Regions from separate parts of the Homo sapiens genome. Here regions 1 and 2 are each linked to region 3. Evidence: promoter capture Hi-C in human tissues and cell types (Jung and others, 2019). All regions are on one chromosome and are shown on one strand. Each heading gives the region's core, a stretch centred on a gene start or on the middle of the fragment in contact. The rest is flanking DNA. Distances are from core to core; before and after follow the strand shown.

Evidence for each region. Contacts are between HindIII fragments. The study calls those that stand out against the background at their distance.
Region 1: a contact is called between a fragment that was not itself captured here and the fragment with the promoter of GCSH in region 3, in 1 of the 25 tissues and cell types used here (adrenal gland).
Region 2: a fragment that was not itself captured here is called in contact with the fragment with the promoter of GCSH in region 3 in 2 of the 25 tissues and cell types used here (dorsolateral prefrontal cortex and mesenchymal stem cells).

Annotation. Positions count from the first base shown.
Region 1 is chr16:80,921,952-80,926,812 of GRCh38, reverse strand. No RefSeq gene overlaps it. Among named protein-coding and RNA genes, the nearest start is that of ARLNC1, 32 kb to the right of the region's middle. The HindIII fragment of the contact is 7,062 bases long and covers 1-4,861 here.
Region 2 is chr16:81,338,511-81,342,817 of GRCh38, reverse strand. The region is part of intron 1 of GAN (gigaxonin); the gene reads right to left. Among named protein-coding and RNA genes, the nearest start is that of GAN, 26 kb to the right of the region's middle. The HindIII fragment of the contact is 3,554 bases long and covers 347-3,900 here.
Region 3 is chr16:81,094,772-81,099,107 of GRCh38, reverse strand. It overlaps GCSH (glycine cleavage system protein H), which reads left to right and starts at 2,713. Exons shown (of 5, transcript NM_004483.5): 1 at 2,713-2,977. The coding sequence starts at 2,830. RefSeq lists silencers at 2,377-2,476, 2,627-3,296. The HindIII fragment of the contact is 10,346 bases long and covers 376-4,336 here.

The DNA.
Region 1 (4,861 bases), core at 2,276-4,775, 170 kb after region 3:
TGAAACCCCATCTCTACTAAAAATACAAAAAATTAGCCGGGCGCGGTGGCGGGCGCCTGTAGTCCCAGCTACTCGGGAGGCTGAGGCAGGAGAAGGGCGTGAACCCGGGAAGCGGAGCTTGCAGTGAGCCGAGATTGCGCCACTGCAGTCCGCAGTCCGGCCTGGGCGACAGAGCGAGACTCCGTCTCAAAAAAAAAAAAAAAATAATAATAATAATAATAATAAAAAAAAAAAAAAAAAAAAAAGCTGTCAGGGTAGGGAGCCTCCCTCCTGCAGGTGTCAGTCTGTGTTGGGATTACCTCTTCACTGTTGTAGCTTCAGTACCTAGTGTAGAGTCTGGCACATAGTAGGTGGTCAATAAATGTTTATAAAATGAATGAGTGAACAAAAACAAGAGAGAGAGTTTGGCTTGGCGTGAAATGGGCATATTAAAACCTGATAGGTTACCAGGGTGTATTAGTGAGAAATGATGACTTTCTGGCTAATGAGGTAATGGGTAATTCTAATTTTTTCGTTTCCTTTCTCTACCTCCTCTTTTCCCCCTTCTCCCCCTCCTCCTTTTGGCTTATGTATTTTCTATAACTTATGCAATCAGCATGTATTTATTTTATAATAATGTAAGAAAAAATGTCTTATTCGTTTTATGGCCACAAAGAATGAATTTTGCATTTTGCATCACAAAGATGAAACACTGAACCCTGGGGGCTGTTCTTCGAAGGTCAGTGGCAGCTCTCTCTTCTGGATGTATTTTTCCTTAGCTATATCTCAGCATTTCAAGGATTTTTAGCCAATTAAGGTAGATGTATGTGAATGAAATGGCTAAAAAAAAAGTCTCCCAAGGGCTAAAAGTCAGCAAAATAATAAATGACATTTAAAAGGAAGCAAAAACACTCTGAAGAAACTAAATGCTACATATCATGGAAAAATGAATGCATTTTGACAAATACTTGTTACAAATATGAAATTAAGGTGGACACGTCCTTGGACAGACAGGCCACAAGTGCTCCAGAGTGGAAGGAAGGAGATGCCTCCCCTGTGTGCCGTGCATGGCCATTCGCATGACTGCTGGGTTCTATTCATCCTAGAGGGTTCATAGACATGAGTTCCCACCCAGCCCGCTCCTGCCTGAAGAAGGAAGACGTTCTCCCCCAGCCCAGGTATCTGGGTGTGAGTTGGGTCCTTAGATGGGAAAAGCATGCTGGAAGTTTTATCGGAGATAGGAAAGAAAGAGCACCCTGGTTTTTTTTTTTTTTTTTTTTTTTTTTTTTAAATCTCTTGGTCTTGTTCTTTTGGATCTCGACTTCCAGGAATTGAAATGTTTAGGAAACTGCTCCTGCCCTTAGCCAATGCATTCTCGACACAGCCGCGTGTTCTACTTACCTAGTGCTGCCTACCACATTCCCCAAATTTTCGTGCTGTCAAACAAGGATTTTTAAATGATGGATTCTGTGGGGCAGAATTCTTTTTCTTTTTTGAGATGGAGTCTTGCTCTGTTGCCCAGGCTGGAGGGTACTGGTGCGATCGATCTCAGCTTACTGCAACCTCCTCCTGTTGGGTTCATGTGATTCTCCTGTCTCAGCCTCCCAAGTAGCTGGGATTACAGGTGCGCACCACCACACCCAGCTAATTTTTGTATTTTTAGTAGAGACGGGGTTTCACCATTTTGACCAGGCTGGTCTCGAACTCCTGACCTCAGGTGATCTGCCCACCTTGGTCTCCCAAAGTGCTGGGACTACAGATGTGAGCTGCTGTGCCCGGCCTGATTTCTTTTTGAAGTATAAGATGTATGCCAATTTTATTCCAGATACATGCCTATTGCAAAGCACGGTGCCTGACACATGATATTCACCCAGCAGAGATGTGTTACATGAACAAATAAGTGTTACAAGGTGCCCAGTTCACACAGGCCAGCTGAAAGCTGATTCTGGGGCTGGCCTGGAGCCCCAGTTGACCACATCTCCTAAAGGTCCCTGGGCTTCGTTCCCTTCTGCTCTCTCCTAGTATCTGCAGCCTTGATTTCATGCTTCACCCTGACCCAACCGTGCTAGGGCATTAAAGAGAGGTCCCTGCCCGTCAAGGCTGGGTGTTAGGTGGGAAGCAACGCCCCCTCGCGGCTAGCGTGCTGGTGGCTGTCACAGATCTCAAAAGGAAGACACCTCTGGGAACCAGAGTTTAGAGATCCAGCTGCCCTTTCCCTTGACATTCATTGAGATTCATTTCCACCCTCAGGGAGTCTGGGTTTTATTGGTATTTGTGAAGGTTTCTTTGTATTACGGTTGGCAACTAGGGAAAGATGTCATCACACAAATAAGCTTGCAAAGAGCTGAGTGGAAAATGTTGCAAATATTAAGAAAGTGACTTTTTGGTCACATTCCCCTGGCTGCCACCAGGTGAATTGACTTAGGGCAACTGTGACTTACTTTTGGCTTATAACTTCCATGAATAAAGCCCGTATAATTATGCTGTGACCCCACAGCTAATTATCTTTCTTTCACTCGCTCTGCTCTGGCCCTGTGGTCTCTGCTGATCTTCAAAGCCATGCAGAAGGCCCCACCATTAGGGCCTTTGCACTTTCTGTCCCCAACTGCTCTTGACCTAGGGGTTTTCACGGCTCACCTCCTTCTCTCCTTCAAGTCTTTACTGAAAGAACATCTTCTCCACAAGGCCTTCTCTGACCAACCTGTTTAAAATTGCAAGCTCCCTGCCATGGTAGGCTCCAGACCCCTCCAAAGAACTTAGCTCCTTTTAAAATAATGTGTTCATTGGCCGGGCCTGTTATCTCAGCACTTGGGGAGGCCAAGGCGGGTGGATCATTTGAGGTCAGGAGTTTGAGACCAGTGTGGCCAACCTGCAGAAACCCTGTCTCTACCAAAAATACAAAAATTAGCCGGGCATGGCAGTGCTTGTACTTGCAACTGCTTACGAGGCTGAGGCCTGGGCAACAGAGCAAGACTCTGTCTCAAAAAAACAAAAACAAAATGATTTTTTGCTAATTGTCTGACTGTTCCCACCAGACGTCATGCTCTAGGAGGGTAGGAATTTGTGTCTGCTTTCTTCACTGCTGCATCCCCAGATCCTGGGACAGTGCCTGGATCATAGTAGGACCTCAATGAATATTTGTTACATGAACGAATAAACAACTCTGTCAATTACCATCTTTCATTCTGGGCATATAACAGTTTTGATAATCAATACCAACAACCTGTAAGATATTTCTTATTGTCTCTGTTTTATAGAAGAAGAAACACAGGCTCAGAGAGGTCAATTAACTTGCCTAACGGCACACAGCTACTTCCTGGCTGAGTTTGAAATAGAGTTAAAATGAAGCTGACACTCAAATCAATGCACAGTGTGCTCTTTTTTTTTTTTTTTTCTTTTGATGGCATCTTGCTCTGTCACCCAGGCTGGAGTGCAGTGGCACAATCTCAGCTCACTGCAACCTCCACCTCCCGCGTTCAAGTGGTTCTCCTGCCTCAGCCTCCCTGGTAGCTGGGATTACAGGTGTGTGCCACCACGCCTGCCTAATTTTTGTGTTTTCAATAGATACGGGGTTTCACCATGTTGGCCAGGCTGGTCTCTAACTCCTGACTTCAGATGATCCACTCACTTTGGCCTCCCAAGCTGCTGGGATTACAGGCATGAGCCACCGCACCCAGCCCAATGCACTCTTGAGCTCTGCATTCTCTCCTATTGATGCAAACACCTCAAAGAGGCCCAGCGCTCCTCCATGGCTGGGCGAGGACAGGCAGGATCAAAGAGGAACAGTAATACAATTCCAGGGACGAGACATTTGGTATAGGCAGAAAGTGCAAAGGAATGTAGGCTGTTCAGCCGGAGGGTTCCTTTGTAAGTTTTGGGTGAAGCACTGATTGGTTGTTCTCCATGCCAGGCTACAGAGGCTGCAAACCAGAAGATGTGGGGGTGCATTTTGGGAAGTCTTGTCTGTAGCAGCCCAGTCTGTGGGAACTGGGAAGCACAATCTCCCTAAACTCCATGCTGATCAGATTTCCCAGAGAAACTGTTTCTGCCAACCACATCTCATATTTGTAATCATGATGATAAATAATTCTATGCGATATGATGATAAATATGGGAGTCACACAAGACATTTTAAACTAAGTGCCTGTTGTCTCCAATTCACAATTGCAGAAATGTGGAACCAGCCCAAATGCCCATCAATCAGTGAGTGGATAAAGAAACTGTGGTATATATATATATACGATGGAATACTACTCAGCCATAAAAAGGAATCAATTAATGGCATTCACAACCACCTGGATGGGATTGGAGATCATTATTCTAAGTGAAGTAACTCAGGAATGGAAAATCAAACATCGTAGGTTATCACTTATAAGTGGAAACTAAACTATGAGGATACAAAGACATAAGAATGATACAATGGACTTTGGAGACTCGGGGGGAAGGGTGGAAAGGTGATGAGGGATAAAAGACTACAAATTGAGTTCAGTGTGTATTGCTTGGGTGATGGGTGCATCAAAATCTCAGAAATTGGCCAGGCGTGGTAGCTCATGCCTGTAATCCCAGCACTTTGGGAGGCCAAGGCATGTGGATCACCTGAGGTCAGGAGTTTGAGACCAACCTCGCCAACATGGTGAAATCCCATTTCTACTAAAAATACAAAAATATTAGCCAGGCATGGTGGTGCATGCCTGTAATCCCAGCTACTCAGGAGGCTGAGGCTGGAGAATTGCTTGAACCTGGGAGGCAGAGGTTGCAGTGAGCCAAGATCGCTCCACCGCACTCCAGTCTGGGCAAGAAGAGCAAAAACTCCGTCTCAAAAAAAAAAAAAAATCTCAGAAATCACTACTAAAGAACTTCCTCATGTAACCAAATACCATCT
Region 2 (4,307 bases), core at 874-3,373, 240 kb before region 3:
GAAGGGTTGTGTCTCCATCTCCTTCAGTTCTGCTCTGATCTTAGTTATTTCTTGTCTTCTGCTAGTTTTTGAATGTGTTTGCTCTTGCTTCTCTAGTTCTTTTAATTGTGATGCTAGGGTGTGGATTTTAGATCTGTCCTGCTTTCTCTTGTGGGCATTTCGTGCTATAAATTTCCCTCTACATATTGCTTGAAATGTGTCCCAAAGATTCTGGTACGTTGTGTCTTTGTTCTCATTGGTTTCAAAGAAAATCTTTATTTCTGCCTTCATTTCGTTATTTACCCAGTAATCATTCAGGAGCAAGTTGTTCAGTTTCCATGTAGTTGTGCGGTTTTGAGTGAGAGTCTGAATCCTGAATTCTAATTTGATTGCACTGTGGTCTGAGACAGTTTGTTGTGATTTCTGTTCTTTTACATTTGCCTAGGAGTGCTTTACTTCCAATTATGTGGTCAATTTTAGAATAAGTGCAATGTGGTGCTAAGAAGAATGTATATTCTGTTGATTTGGGGTGGAGAGTTCTGTAGATGTCTATTTGGTCTGCTTGGTCCAGAGCTGAGTTCAAGTTCTGCATACCCTTATTAATTTTCTGTCTCATTCATCTGTCTAATATTGACAGTGGGGTGTTAAAGTCTCCCATTATTATTGTGTGGGAGTCTAAGTCTCTTTGTAGGTCTCTAAGAACTTGCTTTATGAATCTGGGTGCTCCTGTATTGGGTGGATATGTATTTAGGATAGTTAGCTCTTCTTGTTGAATAGATCCCTTTACCATTATGTAATGGCCTTCTTTGTCTCTTCTGATCTTTGTTGGTTTAAAGTCTGTTTTATCAGAGACAAGGATTGCAACCCCTGCTTCTTCTGCTTTCCATTTGCTTGGTAGATCTTCCTCCATCCCTTTATTTTGAGCCTATGTGTGTCTTTGCATGTGAGATGGGTCTCCTGAACACAGCACACTGATGGGTCTTGACTCTTTATCCAATTTGCCAATCTGTGTCTTTCAATTGGGGTATTTAGCCCATTTACATTTAAGGTTAATATTCTTATGTGTGAATTTGATCCTGTCACTATGATGCTAGCTGGTTATTTCACCTGTTAATTGATGCAGTTACTTCACAGCATCGATGGTCTTTACAATTTGGCATGTTTTTACAGTGGCTGGTACCGGTTGTTCCTATCCATGTTTAGTGCTTCCTTCAGGAGCTCTTGTAAGGCAGGCCTGGTGGTGACAAAAATCTCTCAGCATTTGCTTGTCTGTAAAGGATTTTATTTCTCCTTCACTTATGAAGCTTAGTTTGGCTAGATATGAAATTCTGGGTTGAAAATAGTTTTAAGAATGTTGAATATTGGCCCCCACTCTCTTCTGGTTTGTAGGGTTTCTGCAGAGAGATCCACTGTTAGTCTGATGGGCTCCCTTTGTGGGTAACCCGACCTTTCTCTCTGGCTGCCCTTAACATTTTTTCCTTCATTTCAACCTTGGTGAATCTATGTGTCTTGGGGTTGCTCTTCTCGAGGAGTATCTTTGTGGCATTCTCTGTATTTCCTGAATTTGAATGTTGGCCTGCCTCCCTAGGTTGGGGAAGTTCTCCTGGATAATATCCTGCAGAGTGTTTTCCAACTTGGTTCCATTCTCCCCATCACTTTCAAGTACACCAAACAAATGTAGATTTGGTCTTTTCACATAGTCCCATATTTCTTGAAGGCTTTCTTCATTTCTTTTCACTCCTTTTTTCTCTAATCTTGTCTTCTTGCTTTATTTCATTAATCTGATCTTCAGTCACTGATATCCTTTCTTCTGCTTGATCGAATCAGCTACTGAAGCTTGTGTATACTTCATGAAGTTCTCATACTGTGGTTTTCAGCTCCATCAGGTCATTTAAGGTCTTCTCTACACTGGTTATTCTAGTTAGCCATTTGTCTAACCCTTTTTGAACGCTTTTCGATTCCTTGCGATGGGTTAAAACATGCTCCTTTAGCTTGGAGAAGTTTGTTATTACTGACCTTCTGAAGCCTACTTCTATCAACTCATCAAATTCATTATCCATCCAGTTTTGTTCCCTTGCTGGCAAGGAGTTGTATTCCTTTGGAGGAGAAGAGGTATTCTCTTCTCCTCCAAAGAATTTTCAGCCTTTCTGCTCTGGTTTCTCCCCATCTTTGTGGTTTTATCTACTTGGGTCTTTGATGTTGGTGACCTATGGGTGGGGTTTTGGTGTGGATGTCCTTTTTGTTGATGTTGATGCTATTCCTTTCTGTTTGTTAGTTTTCCTTCTAACAGAGAGGCCCCTCAGCTGCAGGTCTGTGGGGGTTTGCTGGAGGTCCATTCCAGACCCTGTTTGCCTGGGTATCACCAGTGGAGACTGCAGAACAGCAAAAATTGCTGCCTGATCCTTCCTCTGGAAGCTTCGCCCCAGAGGGGCACCTGCCTGTGTGAGGTGTGTGTTGGACAAGGAGCCCTTTTATTGTTTTCTTTTATTTTTATTTCTGACTCATGTGACTGGATGGGTTTTATTATTTTTTTTAAGGATTATTCTACTGTCATATGTTTCCACAATGAAAGAGGATCATTTCTAATGAGTACAGGTTTTGGCTGGGCACAGTGGCTCACGCCTGTAATCCGGGCACTTTGTAAGGCTGAGGTGAGAGGACTGCTTGAGCCCAGGAGTTCAAGACCATTGTGGGCAACACAGCAAGACCTCATCTCTATTTAAAACAAAGAAACGAACAAATATAAAGAATACAGGTTTTTCTCAGCAGGTGGCAGAGGATACACAATGGCTAAGAGGAAGGAATAAGAGACTTCCTGAAATACGAGCATGGACCATTTCAGACTTCCATAAAATGTGATCCTTTCCAAAGCCCATGAAAAAATGAATTGCTGTACACTTGAAGTCTCCAAACACCTGAAGGTTAAGTATCAAAACTTTAATTACGGTTTAAATTCACATCCTTACATCTGCCCCTGACACCTTCCCATCATCCTATCCTGCCCTTAACCTCCCCCAATACCATTTGTGCCTGCCCAATTCCCACCCGTCTTTGAAAGATCAGTTGTAATGCCAGCTGTTCTACAGATTTTTCCTAGATCACTCCATCCTGCCACAAGCTGCACCTCCGCCCTTACCTCTTTGTAGGTAAAAATAGATTCCTGTTATGAATTTCCCCAGCACCTTATCAATAACTTTATTATGACATACTATGGAATGATCAAGTTCTGGCCTACATTATGGTATTTCTCTATTTCCTTTAGTAAACTCCAAGTTCCTTGAGGCTGGAGCCCTCTTTATCACTGTATGCTGACAACCTAGCCCAGCAGTTTACAAAGTGAAGATGCTGCTTGATGATTACATGTACAATAAACTTGAAGCTGACAGTGGTCTTTAAATACTCAAGTCTTTAAATGTGAAGTGCTCTCACATATGATTTTTTCTGATGACCTTAGGTACAACAAAGCTGAACCAGATCAAAAACAAGGAAGAACGTTTAATAACTGTATCTGTACAACGCTGAAAGGATTAAGGCCCAGTGCTTCTCAAACTTTAATGCTCATACAATTCAACTGGGAACTGTTCAAAACAAGGTTTTTCTGATTCAGAAGGTTGGCAATGCAGCCTGAGTGCTTGTCTTTGTAATGAGCTCTTGGGTGATGTGGATTCTGTCGGTCTCCAGACCACTCTTTGAGTAACAAGGGGTTAATAGGTGCTTCTTCAATTATCTGTGCTATGTTTTTTGTATTTCCAATTAATCCCAGATGAATATTTTGTAAAATATAATGACTTAATTCATAGATAAATTCAACAGACATAAATTACTCTGTCAAACTGCTAAAAGAGTTTCTAAACTCTTGAGCTTCTATGATCATGGGCAGGTAACAATGTGCAGACCATCACCAGCCTGCACATGCCATCTTAGTAGCATCATGCTGGATGATCATCTACCTGTCTGCCAAGAATGAAGTGAAAGTTGGAAATCAGGGCCTCTCAAAGGGCCTCCCTTCCAGTCTTGGACTGTAAGCATCACTCAAATCTATCCGGAAGCAGTCTTGCTCCACAGCCTTCTGCCATTCACAGCCACTTCCCTCCCGCATTTCTGGGACAGTCACCGTTCCTTTCTAATTTAGTAACTACACAAACTTGTCTTATTCTCCCTTATTGTCTTCACTTTTCCCCCAACTTCCCAACTTAAATCTCTATATACCTTTAGTTTTATTCCATTCTGTTTTGCATTTCTTTCCTTCCATATACTTTCATTTTTCTAATACCTACCAAAACATTTTCGCCTTAGATTTCCCTTTTTTATCTAGAATTTTCTCATCT
Region 3 (4,336 bases), core at 1,464-3,963:
TCCCAGCACTTTGGAAGGCCGAGGTGGGTGGATTACAAGGTCAGGAGTTCGAGACCAGCTTGGCCAACATAGTGAAACCCCATCTCTACTAAACATACAAAAATTAGACGGGCGTGGTGGCACGTGGTCCTGTAGTCCCAGCCACTCGGGAGGCTGAAGCAGGAGAATTGCTTGAACCCGGGAGGCAGAGGTTGCAGTGAGCCAAGATCACGCCACTGCGCTCCAGCTTGGGCGACAGAGCTAGACTTCGTCTCGAAAAAAAAAAAGAAAAAAAGAAGAGTTGCTTTCTAATCAGTGTAGAGGCCAAGGTCTACTACTGCCACCTAGGAGCTACTTAAGCCACAAAAACGCCTCCCCGATCCCACTCCTCGGAAGTGCCTTCACCTCTGAGCCTCATCTATGAAATGAGTGTAACACCTGCCAGAAAGAGGTTTGGAGAGGATTAAAAAGATGTGTGCATAGTGCCAGGCACATAGCAAAGGCTCAATAGATGGGAATGATTTGCTCAAAAGAAAGTGGGCATGACGGCCCTTGCAAGCCACTGCACAGATGTGGTGGCAACCCTAAGTTCATAGCAGGGCAGAAGCTCAGTGCAACAACGTATGGGCTCCCCAAACACACACACACTCCATGGTGTGCACCCTATGGTACTGTTTCCGGTGTTTGAACAAGAACAACTCCATTTTGAATATGGGCTGGGTAAAATGAGGCTGAGACTTGGTGGGCTGCATTCCCAGGAGGTTAGGCATTCTTTTTATTTGTATTTTTTTCTGAAGCAGAGTCTCGCTCTGTCACCCAGGCTGGAGTGCAGTGGCGTGATCTCGACTCACTGCAACCTCTGCCTCCCAGGCTCAAGTGATTCTCGTGCCTCAGCCTCCTGAGTAGCTGGGATTACAGGCACCTGCCACCATGCCTGGCTAAACTTTGGATTTGTAGTAGAGACGGGGGTTTCTCCATGTTGGCCAGGTTGGTCTCGAACTCCTGACCTCAAGTGATTCACCTGCCTCACTTAGTCACAGGATGAGCTAGGGTTGGCACAAGATACAGGTCACAAAGTCCCTGCTGATAAAATAGGATGCGGTAAAGGAGCTGGCCAAAACTCACCAAAACCAAGATGGCGACCTCTGGTAGGTCTCACTGCTCATTATACGCTAATTATAATGCATTAGCATGTTAAAAAAAAAACAACTCCCACCAGCGTCATGACAGTTCACAAATGCAATGGCAACGTCCAGAGAAGTTACCCTATAGTCCAAAAAGCGGAGGAACCGTTAGTTCTAGGAAATCCCTGCCCCTTTTCTGGAGAACTCTTGAATGATCCACCCCTTGTTTAGCATACAATCAAGAAATAACTATAAGTACACTTAGTCGAGAAGCCATACTGCTGCTCTGTCTACGAAGAAGCCATTCTTTTTTTTCTTTACTTCTCTATTAAACGTGCTTTCACTTTATAGACTCTCCCCAAATTCTTTCTTGCATGAGGTCCAAAAACCCTCTCTTGGGGTCTGGATTGGGAGCCCTTTCTGTAACAGTACTAAAGGTGTGTGTGTAGCTTAAGGTGTTTTTCAGAACAGTATTTCTTTGCTGACTCATGGCCACTCCATAAAATCTGTGTTAAAGGTGAGGTTTTTCCCAGAACCTAATTTTTTTCTGACTTCTTGGATTGGGATGATGACTTCGGCTTTTCTCGGAAGGCCTTGGTCACACCGCTGGCCGATGAAACAAGGAATTGTGCACACTGGGTCTCAGCTCTCTGCGTTTTGAATATTTCTGCATTAGTGACTGGCTTGGGTCCAGTCTCCACCAAGAAGCCACTTATGACCCTTGGACAAGTCTTTATTCCTTTTTAAGTAAGCTTCTGGATTCTGCCGGTCCTGTTTGGGGTCCCTGGGGCTCTTTGAGACAGGAACGTTACAGAGCAGTTGAAGGAGAATAGAAACTTCCAGGCTGCAGTTCTGTCTAACAAAAGGAAACTGTTGAAATAGCTGCACAAGCTATGGGCTAAGACCCTGAAAAACCAGGGTGTGGGTCAACCTGGCTAAAACCAACTGGACCCAACGTGGTGTGGCTTTGACCTAGGCTTCACCTAGGACTCATTAACATACTAAGTCACACACCCACCGGCACCACAACAATTCCGGGAACACCCATATTTGGTGTAAAAATGGGTGGCACCACAGTTCTGACAAGTCTCCACCTTATTCCAGAAACCTTTGTGTATATTCCATTTCTCAAAGAAACCCATAAAGATGGAAACCCCAAGCCCCATTGTGTGGCCCTCTTTTGAGTCCGCCCTTTCTTCAGTGTGTACTTTGCAGTAAACCTCTGTACTTTCACGACTTTCCGACTTGTTCTTGAATTCCTTCGTGAGGTGGTGAAACCACCTTTGAAAACTTATGACAGAGGCAGTAAAAGAGATACACATGTGGAAAGGAACCCAGTCTGGGGCTAGGCCCCGCCCCCCTCCTGCGGGCAGCCCAATCATACCCAGGCCCGCCGCGCTAGTCTCCGCCTCTCGGTGCTGCCTCTTCCGGGCCTCAGGTTCTTCCCCATGCCCACGCCCCTCTTTCGCGTCGCCGTATCCGAGGTCGCGCCAGGCCCTGGAGTCCCCAGTCTCCGCGTGCTGGCCAATCAGACCCTGCCTCGCCCCCTCGCCTGGGAGTCTCCGCCCTCCACGCTCTGCCCAGTCAGGCTCTGTCCCGCCCCCGCGGCACCGCCTCCGCGCCTCCATCCAGCCGGCTCCCTCCGGCCGCGAACTGCCCCTCCCCGCCCCGCCTCCCGGCGCGGGTGGCCGAGGCGTAGCGCTGCGACCCCCGCACCCCTGCGAACATGGCGCTGCGAGTGGTGCGGAGCGTGCGGGCCCTGCTCTGCACCCTGCGCGCGGTCCCGTCACCCGCCGCGCCCTGCCCGCCGAGGCCCTGGCAGCTGGGGGTGGGCGCCGTCCGTACGCTGCGCACTGGACCCGCTCTGCTCTCGGGTAAGCGCGGCGGGCACGTGGGCGGCTGCTCCCTCCCCGCCTGGGCTGCTTGTCCCGGGCCCAGCGGGACACGGAGGACGCCGGGGCACCGCTCCTGAGCCACCGGGGCGGAGCGAGCGCGGACCCTGCCCCCTTCTTATTTCTGTTGGGATCCCTGGCTCTGCGGCCGCTTCTCCCCCTTAAGTAGCGGGAGGACCCGCGAGTAGCCTTTGCCCTAGGGATTGCATGCAGCCGGGAGGGGAGGCCTGCGGGACACCGAGGCGGGGGTGGCCCGGCGGGTCCGGCGGGCAGGTCGGCCGCTTGCTGCAGAAGCCAGGCACGTGTCGCTTAAGCGTCTCGGTGGCCTTAAGTTTATCTCCCATCTGCGTGCATCGTTGAGACCCCAAATGGGGAGGCCTTTAGTTTACTAAATGGACCGTTACTGAGAACTCCGAAGTAAAATTAAAACAGAAGCGCTTATTAAAATTAAAGCACCAGGCAGGGCGCGTTGGCTCATGCCGGAGGGCGGATCACGAGGTCAGGAGATCGAGACTATCCTGGCTAACACGGTGAAATCCCATCTCTACTAAAAGTACAAAAAATTAGCCAGGCGTGGCGGCATGCGCATGTAATCCCAGCTACTCGGGAGGCTGAGGCAGGAGAATCGCTTGAACCTGGGAGGCAGAGGTTGCAGTGAGCCGAGATCGCGCCACTGCACTCCAGCCTGGGCGACAGAGCAAAACTCCACCTCAAAAAAAAAAAAAAAAAAAAAAATTAAAGCGCCAGATCTAGATTTTTTTACTAGATAAAACAATCATAACTTTGAAGATTCAGCTATTTCCCCAAAACAAGTAAGATAAAGTCTTCTGGACTCAACAGAAGTTCTGCTAAAGTTTGTATTGGATCATTCATGTGTGTGCTTGCTGAAATGAGCCCTAACTCAAACGGACTTGAAATAACTGGGAAACCTGCCCATGAATGTTTCGGCCATTTGTGCTACTTCAGCACAATTATTGCAGGGGAAAAACAATTTTCTTTTTTTTTTTTTTTCTTTTTATTGAGACGGAGCCTCGCTCTGTCGCCCAGGCTGGAGTGCAGCGGCGTGATCTCGGCTCACTGCAAGCGCCACCTCCCAGATTCAAGCGATTCTCTTGCCTCAGCCTCCCGAGTAGCTGGGTTCACTGGCGCCCGTCACCACCTCCAGCTGAGTTTTGTATTTTTAGTAGAGACAGGGTTTCGCCACGTTAGGCTGGTCTCAAACTCCTGACCTCAAGTGATCCACCCGCCTCAGCCTCCCAAAGTGCTGAGATTACAGTCGTGCGTCACCGCGCCAGGCCAACAATTTTCTTTACGCCCAAATGTTTGATACACTGACTGCTC